Regions from separate parts of the Homo sapiens genome. Here region 1 is linked to region 2. Evidence: promoter capture Hi-C in 16 types of primary human blood cells and fetal thymus (Javierre and others, 2016). All regions are on one chromosome and are shown on one strand. Each heading gives the region's core, a stretch centred on a gene start or on the middle of the fragment in contact. The rest is flanking DNA. Distances are from core to core; before and after follow the strand shown. Region 1 overlaps MAN2C1 (mannosidase alpha class 2C member 1). Region 2 holds the start of SNUPN (snurportin 1).

Evidence for each region. The method cuts DNA at HindIII sites, captures the fragments that hold promoters and counts their contacts. A CHiCAGO score of 5 or more calls a contact.
Region 1: a fragment that was not itself captured here is called in contact with the fragment with the promoter of SNUPN in region 2 in 3 of 17 cell types (erythroblasts, fetal thymus and endothelial precursors); the score reaches 7.0 in erythroblasts.

What each region holds. Positions count from the first base shown.
Region 1 is chr15:75,357,800-75,361,676 of GRCh38, reverse strand. It overlaps MAN2C1 (mannosidase alpha class 2C member 1), which reads left to right. Exons shown (of 26, transcript NM_006715.4): 10 at 1-73; 11 at 296-391; 12 at 486-631; 13 at 989-1,112; 14 at 1,466-1,587; 15 at 1,689-1,774; 16 at 1,902-2,057; 17 at 2,252-2,349; 18 at 2,524-2,618; 19 at 2,869-2,973; 20 at 3,059-3,215; 21 at 3,333-3,476. Among named protein-coding and RNA genes, the nearest start is that of MIR631, 6.1 kb to the right of the region's middle. The HindIII fragment of the contact is 940 bases long and covers 1,264-2,203 here.
Region 2 is chr15:75,624,036-75,627,875 of GRCh38, reverse strand. It overlaps SNUPN (snurportin 1), which reads left to right and starts at 2,151. Exons shown (of 9, transcript NM_005701.4): 1 at 2,151-2,210. RefSeq lists an enhancer at 1,783-1,972 and a silencer at 2,623-2,672. The HindIII fragment of the contact is 10,585 bases long and covers 1-3,840 here.

The DNA.
Region 1 (3,877 bases), core at 484-2,983, 270 kb after region 2:
GATCATGCACGGCTGTGGCATCAGGCGCTTTCTCACCCAGAAATTGAGCTGGAATTTGGTGAACTCCTTCCCAGTAAGCAGGCCCCCGGGGGGTCAGGGTCAGAGTGGGCCTCAGTCCCGCCTGGCCCATTTGCCTCTCCCCCTTATTGTGGGGTCCTAGACAGACCACCAAACCCTCACTCTGCCTCTGCCAGGGTCACATAGCAGGCAGGGGCAGGACCAAGTCTGGAAGGCCTGGCTCTGCCTCAGCCCTGACTCTGGCCTCTCTGCCCTGCTTCTGTTTCCCTGCTGGTAGCACCATACATTTTTCTGGGAGGGCCTGGATGGCTCCCGTGTACTGGTCCACTTCCCACCTGGCGACTCCTATGGGATGCAGGGCAGCGTGGAGGAGGTGAGGGGTCACCTAGGGTGGTGGGGTAGGGGCAGGCTGGAGAGGGCTGGCTTGTTCCAGGCTGATCCATGCTGGCCTGCCCTCACCTGTCTAGGTGCTGAAGACCGTGGCCAACAACCGGGACAAGGGGCGGGCCAACCACAGTGCCTTCCTCTTTGGCTTTGGGGATGGGGGTGGTGGCCCCACCCAGACCATGCTGGACCGCCTGAAGCGCCTGAGCAATACGGATGGGCTGCCCAGGTCAGGCCAGGCCTTGGCTCTCCTTTAGCCCCACCCTGGGCCCTTGCCATGAGCCCTGCCTTCCCTCAGACATTGGGCCCAACCCCTCCTCTGGACCTTGTCCTGTCCCAATCCTAGACCACGGGTTCCTCCAAACTTCCACCCTGGGGGTGGGTGGGGGAGAAGCTGAAGCTGGTAAGGGCTCCAGCCCATCAGAGAGAGAGGCTCTCCTAGGGCGTCCAGGGCTGGCCATCTGTGAACGGGGAGCTTTCTGGAGTGGCTCCTCTCTGTAGGAGCTGGATCCTTTGCTTTGGTGTGGAAGAAGGGTGAGCCATGTGGTCTCCAAGGCTGGGAGACCTAGGCTTGTGGTCTCCTCAGGGTGCAGCTATCTTCTCCAAGACAGCTCTTCTCAGCACTGGAGAGTGACTCAGAGCAGCTGTGCACGTGGGTTGGGGAGCTCTTCTTGGAGCTGCACAATGGCACATACACCACCCATGCCCAGGTCAGGGGGAGGTTGCAGGGCTGTGCAGGGAGGGTGTGCCCTTGATCTGCAGAGGGTCAGAGAAGGCAGCAGGGGACAGAGCCCAGGCCAGATCTAGGGGAAGAGAAGTTTGGAGGAGAGAAGTTCAAGACCTGGGTTGGTCAAGAAAGCTTGAAGGAGGCAGAAACCCCTGAAGAAAGAAGGGTTTGGGCTGCGGGGAGAAGAGGGAAGGCATTTAAGGCAGGTCACCCGCCAGAGGCCTTCTCCACGAGGCCCTTGGTGAGTCCTCAGGGATTCTGAGCAAGGGAGGGCTTTGGAAGGTGTCCTGGGACAGCTAAGCAGGCTCCAGACTAATCTTCCCATCCTGGGCTCAGATCAAGAAGGGGAACCGGGAATGTGAGCGGATCCTGCACGACGTGGAGCTGCTCAGTAGCCTGGCCCTGGCCCGCAGTGCCCAGTTCCTATACCCAGCAGCCCAGCTGCAGCACCTCTGGAGGTCAGCCCAGTTCTGTCCCTGCCATCCACCTGACTGCTCACTGCAGTTACCTCTGTGCCTGCCCCTCCCAGCCTTCCCATCCCTGCCCTTGGCCCCTGCAGGCTCCTTCTTCTGAACCAGTTCCATGATGTGGTGACTGGAAGCTGCATCCAGATGGTGGCAGAGGAAGCCATGTGCCATTATGAAGGTTAGGCTCACAATAGTCCTGCCTGCTCTCTCCAACCCCAGGGCTGAGCCCAGAGTGTCCCCTGTGGGATACCCATGGGCACATTCCAGACCTGTTGCCCACCTATGACCAGCCAGTCTTTCCTCAGACATCCGTTCCCATGGCAATACACTGCTCAGCGCTGCAGCCGCAGCCCTGTGTGCTGGGGAGCCAGGTCCTGAGGGCCTCCTCATCGTCAACACACTGCCCTGGAAGCGGATCGAAGTGATGGCCCTGCCCAAACCGGGCGGGGCCCACAGCCTAGGTACGAGCTGAGGGGAAGGGTTGCTACTGCAGCAGGAAGGATGGAGGCCAGACAGATCAGGCCTGGGATACCCCGAGGGATCTGGGTGCCCCTGACTGGAGAGTAGTAGCACATCTTCCACCAACCCATCCCCACCTGCGCAAGCTTCCTGAAAGGTCAGGAAGGCTGCACTGATGCCCAGGCCTCACCCCCAGCCCTGGTGACAGTGCCCAGCATGGGCTATGCTCCTGTTCCTCCCCCCACCTCACTGCAGCCCCTGCTGCCCCAGCAGCCTGTGTTCGTAGTGCAAGAGGTGAGTCCTGCATGCCCTGGGGGGCAGGAACTGTGCTGGGATACTTTCTTACAACTGAGGGTCCTGAGCTCCCCTGTCTGGAGCAAGTGGTGAGGCGGGGCTGGGGTTGGGGTGGGAAGACTTTTGGTGTGGGAAGCCCCTACAGACTCAGCCTCAAGGCCTCCTCCCACAAAGACTGATGGCTCCGTGACTCTGGACAATGGCATCATCCGAGTGAAGCTGGACCCAACTGGTCGCCTGACGTCCTTGGTCCTGGTGGCCTCTGGCAGGTGCCAAATCCTCATTGCCCTTTCCCAGTGCCTGGCAAGTAGACCCCAGGCCATTTCCTCTCTCCCCTTGCCACAACACTGCCCACAGCAGCCCACCAGTGGCTCTGGGCTGGAACCCACACATGGAGCAGGGCAGGCTGGGCAGTAGTCCCCTGTCCACTGGGTCTACTCACTCCACCCTACCCCACCAAGAGCAGCTGGAGACAGCGAGGTCAGTTGGTTGTACAGCACCAATCCCATGTCCTTCCAGGGAGGCCATTGCTGAGGGCGCCGTGGGGAACCAGTTTGTGCTATTTGATGATGTCCCCTTGTACTGGGATGCATGGGACGTCATGGACTACCACCTGGAGACACGGTATAGGCTGGGCAGCATGTGGGGATGGTGGAGGTGGTGGGAACACAGGCTGCTCTGGATCAGTATGTCCACCCCTGTCCCATAGGAAGCCTGTGCTGGGCCAGGCAGGGACCCTGGCAGTGGGCACCGAGGGCGGCCTGCGGGGCAGCGCCTGGTTCTTGCTACAGATCAGCCCCAACAGTCGGCTTAGCCAGGAGGTTGTGCTGGACGTTGGCTGCCCCTATGTCCGCTTCCACACCGAGGTAGTCGGGGGGTAGGGGGTGGCTGTTTTCCCCAAGTGTGCTTGGTAAGGAGGGGCCAGCCCCAGGCCTTGGTGTGTCTCTTCCTTCCCTGACTCCCACCCTCCTTCCCACTCCCAGGTACACTGGCATGAGGCCCACAAGTTCCTGAAGGTGGAGTTCCCTGCTCGCGTGCGGAGTTCCCAGGCCACCTATGAGATCCAGTTTGGGCACCTGCAGCGACCTACCCACTACAATACCTCTTGGGACTGGGCTCGATTTGAGGTCTGACATGGCAGGGTGGGAGTGGCCTTGGACTCCTCCCTGGCTGGGGAGACTGCTTGTGTGGAACAGGCTGGGGAGGAAGAGGATAATCAACATTTGCTGCTTCCTAACGTGTGTGCCAGGCATTGCACTAAATGCTTTACATTGGCAAGGCACAGTGGCTCACGCCTGTAATTCCAGCACTTTGGGAGGCCGAGGTGGGTGGATCACCTGAGGTCAGGAGTTCAAGACCAGCCTGGCCAACATGGTGAAACGCCATCTCTACTAAAAATACAAAAATTGGGCCGGGCGTGGTGACTCACGCCTGTAATCCCAGCAGTTTGGGAGGCTGAGGTGGGTGGATCACGAGGTCAAGAGATCGAGACCATCCTGGCTAACACGATGAAACCCTGTCTCTACTA
Region 2 (3,840 bases), core at 902-3,401:
GCTGAGTGCAGTGGCAGGATCACAGCTCACTGCAGCCATGACTTCCTGGGCTCAAGTGATCCTCCCACCTCAGCCTTCCAAGTAGTTGGGATCATGACTCATACCACTACACCTAGCTAATTTTTTTTTTGTGGAGATGGGTTTTTGTCATGTTGCCCAGGCTGGTCTCAAACTCATGGGCTACTTCCACCTTGGCCTCTCAAAGTGGTGGGATTACAGGCATGAGCCACAGTGCCTGACCTGGTTTTGTTTTGTTTTTTCAGTGATATGGGAAGTTATTCAGCTAGGTGTGAGTGAGGAACTAGAACATTTCTCCTGGACCTCCAGGCATGAATTTGGGAACTTCTTTCTCAGTCTCAGTCTATTTTCCTAAAATGTTTAAGGTCTTTATTCTTTTCTATGCAGCCCGACCATTAGATGTGACCTCCGTGGTTGTAAGGGATGGTTGTTTGGACACAAAATACCTAATATCCTGGGTGTCAAAATTCCCTAGTGAAGTCAGGCCCTGGACTTCTCTTTTTTGTCAGTCTCATAAATCAGGCAGACATGAGCTTTTATTTGTGGATGCACCAAATAAATACCCTAGTGGACAGCTTTGCTCAGCCTGGCCACTGAAAGAGCCACCTAAATAAAATCTCAGGTCCAGGCCGGGTGCGGTGGCTCACGCCTTTAATCCCAGCACTTTGGGAGGCCGAGGCGGGCAGATCATGAGGTCAGGAGATCGAGACCATCCTGGCTAACACAGTGAAACCCCGTCTCTACTAAAAATACAAAAAAATTAGCCGGGCATGGTGGCAGGCGCCTGTAGTCCCAGCTACTCAGTAGGCTGAGGCAGGAGAATGGCGTGAACCCGGGAGGCGGAGCTTGCAGTGAGCGGAGATTGCGCCACTGCACTCCAGAGCCTGGGCGACAGAGCGAGACTCCATCTCAAAAAAATAAAAAAAAATCTCACGTCCAGAAAAATTGGCCTTCCAGGGCCCCAGAACCCTTTTTACCAGTCTAGTAATAGCCTTTCATCAGCCTAATTTCCTATTCTTTTTAGTCTGAATGTATGGTGTAATGTGCATAAAATACACAAGTCCAAATTTTAGCATTCCGTGGACGCAAAATGTGCCAAAGGTGGATACTTTGCTTCTGTCATACATCGGTAGTCAACTTCCCTATACATCAAACTTTCAGCAAATTCAAACATTTTCCTTGAAAGCTGTGTTACTTTGGCCAAATTACTTAACCTCTCTGAGCTTCAGTGTGTCTACTTCCTCATGTCATGATTAAGAGTTAATATCTACTGGCTTAAAAAAGAAAAAAAAGGAAAAAAATTAAATGAGATGATGGGTGTGAAGCAGGGATTGGCTGAATGTAAGCATTCAATAAATATTCAGTTTTAAAATTGTAATCTCAGCCTTCCCGCCCTGCAGAGGCTACACCCTGGCAGGACTTAATCTCCTAAATCTCTGCCGCTTACCCTAGTCTTTTGCACCAATTTAATCATTCCTTCACGCAGGGTCTACTGAGCGCCATCCCTTGTGCTGGACTCTGGCTACTTAAATAGGAATCAAGCCAGGTCCCTACCATTGCTCAGCCCGCAGCCGAGTGGGAAAGAAGCTCGCAAAAGCAGCAAACAGGCAGTAATCGAGGTATGTATCTGCTTTTGTTAAGGGCAAGTGGGGGAGCGAAGGTCTGTGTCTGAAACTTGGGTGTGAGGGGTTAGTTGGAGTAATCCAGGCAATTGGCACTGCCCGTTTAAGAGCACGGGCCCAAGAGGGGAAGGGGACTCCAGGTGAAGCCCTAAGGCCCGGGAAGATCTGCGGGAGGCGGCAGGGCCCAGGGCGTTGAATGCCCGGCCACAAGATCAGCCTCCTCCCATTGGCGAAAGGAGCCCCGAAGAGCTTGTGTTCAGGAGGGAGGCCTCGGCCTGGTCAAGTCATCTAGCAGGAAGAGTCCCGGACAGTGCAAAGCAAATGCAAGAAGACCCCCTCCCTAGCCGATGGGAAATGCCCCAGCCGTTGAAGGCGGAAATAACGGCCTGTAGGCAACGGAACTCCCAGCGTTCGCAAAGGAGGGAGGAGCCGGAAACTCAGGGCGCGAGGCCTGTGGGCCCAGCGGTGAGGCAGCAGCTGGGGGCGGGGGGAGGGCGGACCTAGCTTCCCAGGGCAGGTGATTCGTCGGCCCCGGTGGCGGCGGCGCGTGCGACGGTCACCTCGGTTTGGGTGAGTCCCTGGGTTCGAGCCCGGGCCCCGCCAGCTGCCGAGTTGCCTCTCGGTGCCGGACTGTGACTCCCTCTGGCCGGCCCTGCACTCTGGCCTCCTGGGACGTCATCTGGAGGGATAGAGCCAGGCCTGGGACTCCTTTTGGGAGAGTTTCCGTTCTTCTATTCCGTGCTGTCCGGCCAGGACCCCTCAGGGACTTCTGTGGGGCAGGGGCGAATCATGCATGGCCTAGATGACCCCATGCCTAGAAAAAGGCAGTGCGGGGCGGTGGCGGCGCGCACGGCCGAGTGAAGCAGATAGCGTCCCCGGGGCTGGAGCCCGGTAGCAGGGGTAGGGAAACGCGGAGGCTGCCAGGATGCGGACCCAGGGGACGCGAGGCGGGGGCGCCGGATGGGGAGACGCGAAGGAGGGGGAAGGGGATGGGGGAGGGGGCTAGACAGGGAGGGAGGGTGGAGCGTGGGCGGGGCCTGGGGCGGGTCGGACTTTAGGGAGTTGGAGCGGGGGTTACTGGTGCTAAGACCACCTGGGGCTAAGGTCCGAACACTTGGAGGCAGCACCATCCAAGGAATGGGTTGAAACAGCAGGAGCCCGGCGGGGCGCAGTGGCTCACGCCTGTAATCCCAGCACTTTGGGAGGCCGAGGTGGGCGGATCACCTGAGGTCAGGAGTTTGAGACCAGCCTGACCAACATGGTGAAACCCCATCTGTACTAAAAATACAAAAAAAATTAGCCGGGCGTTGTGGCGCGTGCCTGTAATCCCAGCTACTCGGGAGGCTGAGGCAGGAGAATCGCTTGAATCCGGGAGATGGAGGTTGCAGTGAGCCGAGATCATGCCACTGCACTCCAGCCTGGGCAACAAGAGCGAAACTCTGTCTCAAAAAAAAAACAACAACAACAAAGAAAAAACAAAACGAAACAGCAGGAACCCGCCAAGAACAGCCTTGAAGGAAGGTAAAGGAACCGCCCCAGTATCCAGGACATCAGTTTTTCTTTTTTTTTTCTTTTTGAGACGAAGTCCAGGCTGGAGTGCAGTGGCACGATCTCGACTCACTGCAAGCTCCGCCTTACGGGTTCAAGCCATTCTCCTGCCTCAGCCTCCCGAGCATCTGGGACTACAGGCGCCCGTCACCATGCCTGGCTAATTTTTTTGTATTTTTTTTTTTTTTTTTAGTAGAGACGGGGTTTCACTGTGTTAGCCAGGATGGTCTCGATCTCCTAACCTCAGGTGATCTGCCCGCTTCAACCTCCCAAAGTGCTGGGATTACAGGCGTGAGCCACCGCGCCAGGCCCAGGACATCAGTTTCAAAGGTTGTGTGGTTCTTGGCAGAGCGGGAGCCCACACCAAGATAGTGCATGATAGGCCTAATAAAGGTGCTTTGGATTTGGTCATTACTTTGGTGATGAACTGAAAACATAATGACTTTTTAAAAATTTTTATCGGCCGGGCGCGGTGGCTCACGCCTGTAATCCCAGCACTTTGGGAGGCCGAGGCGGGCGGATCACGAGGTCAGGAGATCGAGACCATCCCGGCTAAAACGGTGAAACCCCGTCTCTACTGAAAATACAAAAAATTAGCCGGGCGTAGTGGCGGGCGCCTGTAGTCCCAGCTACTTGGGAGGCTGAGGCAGGA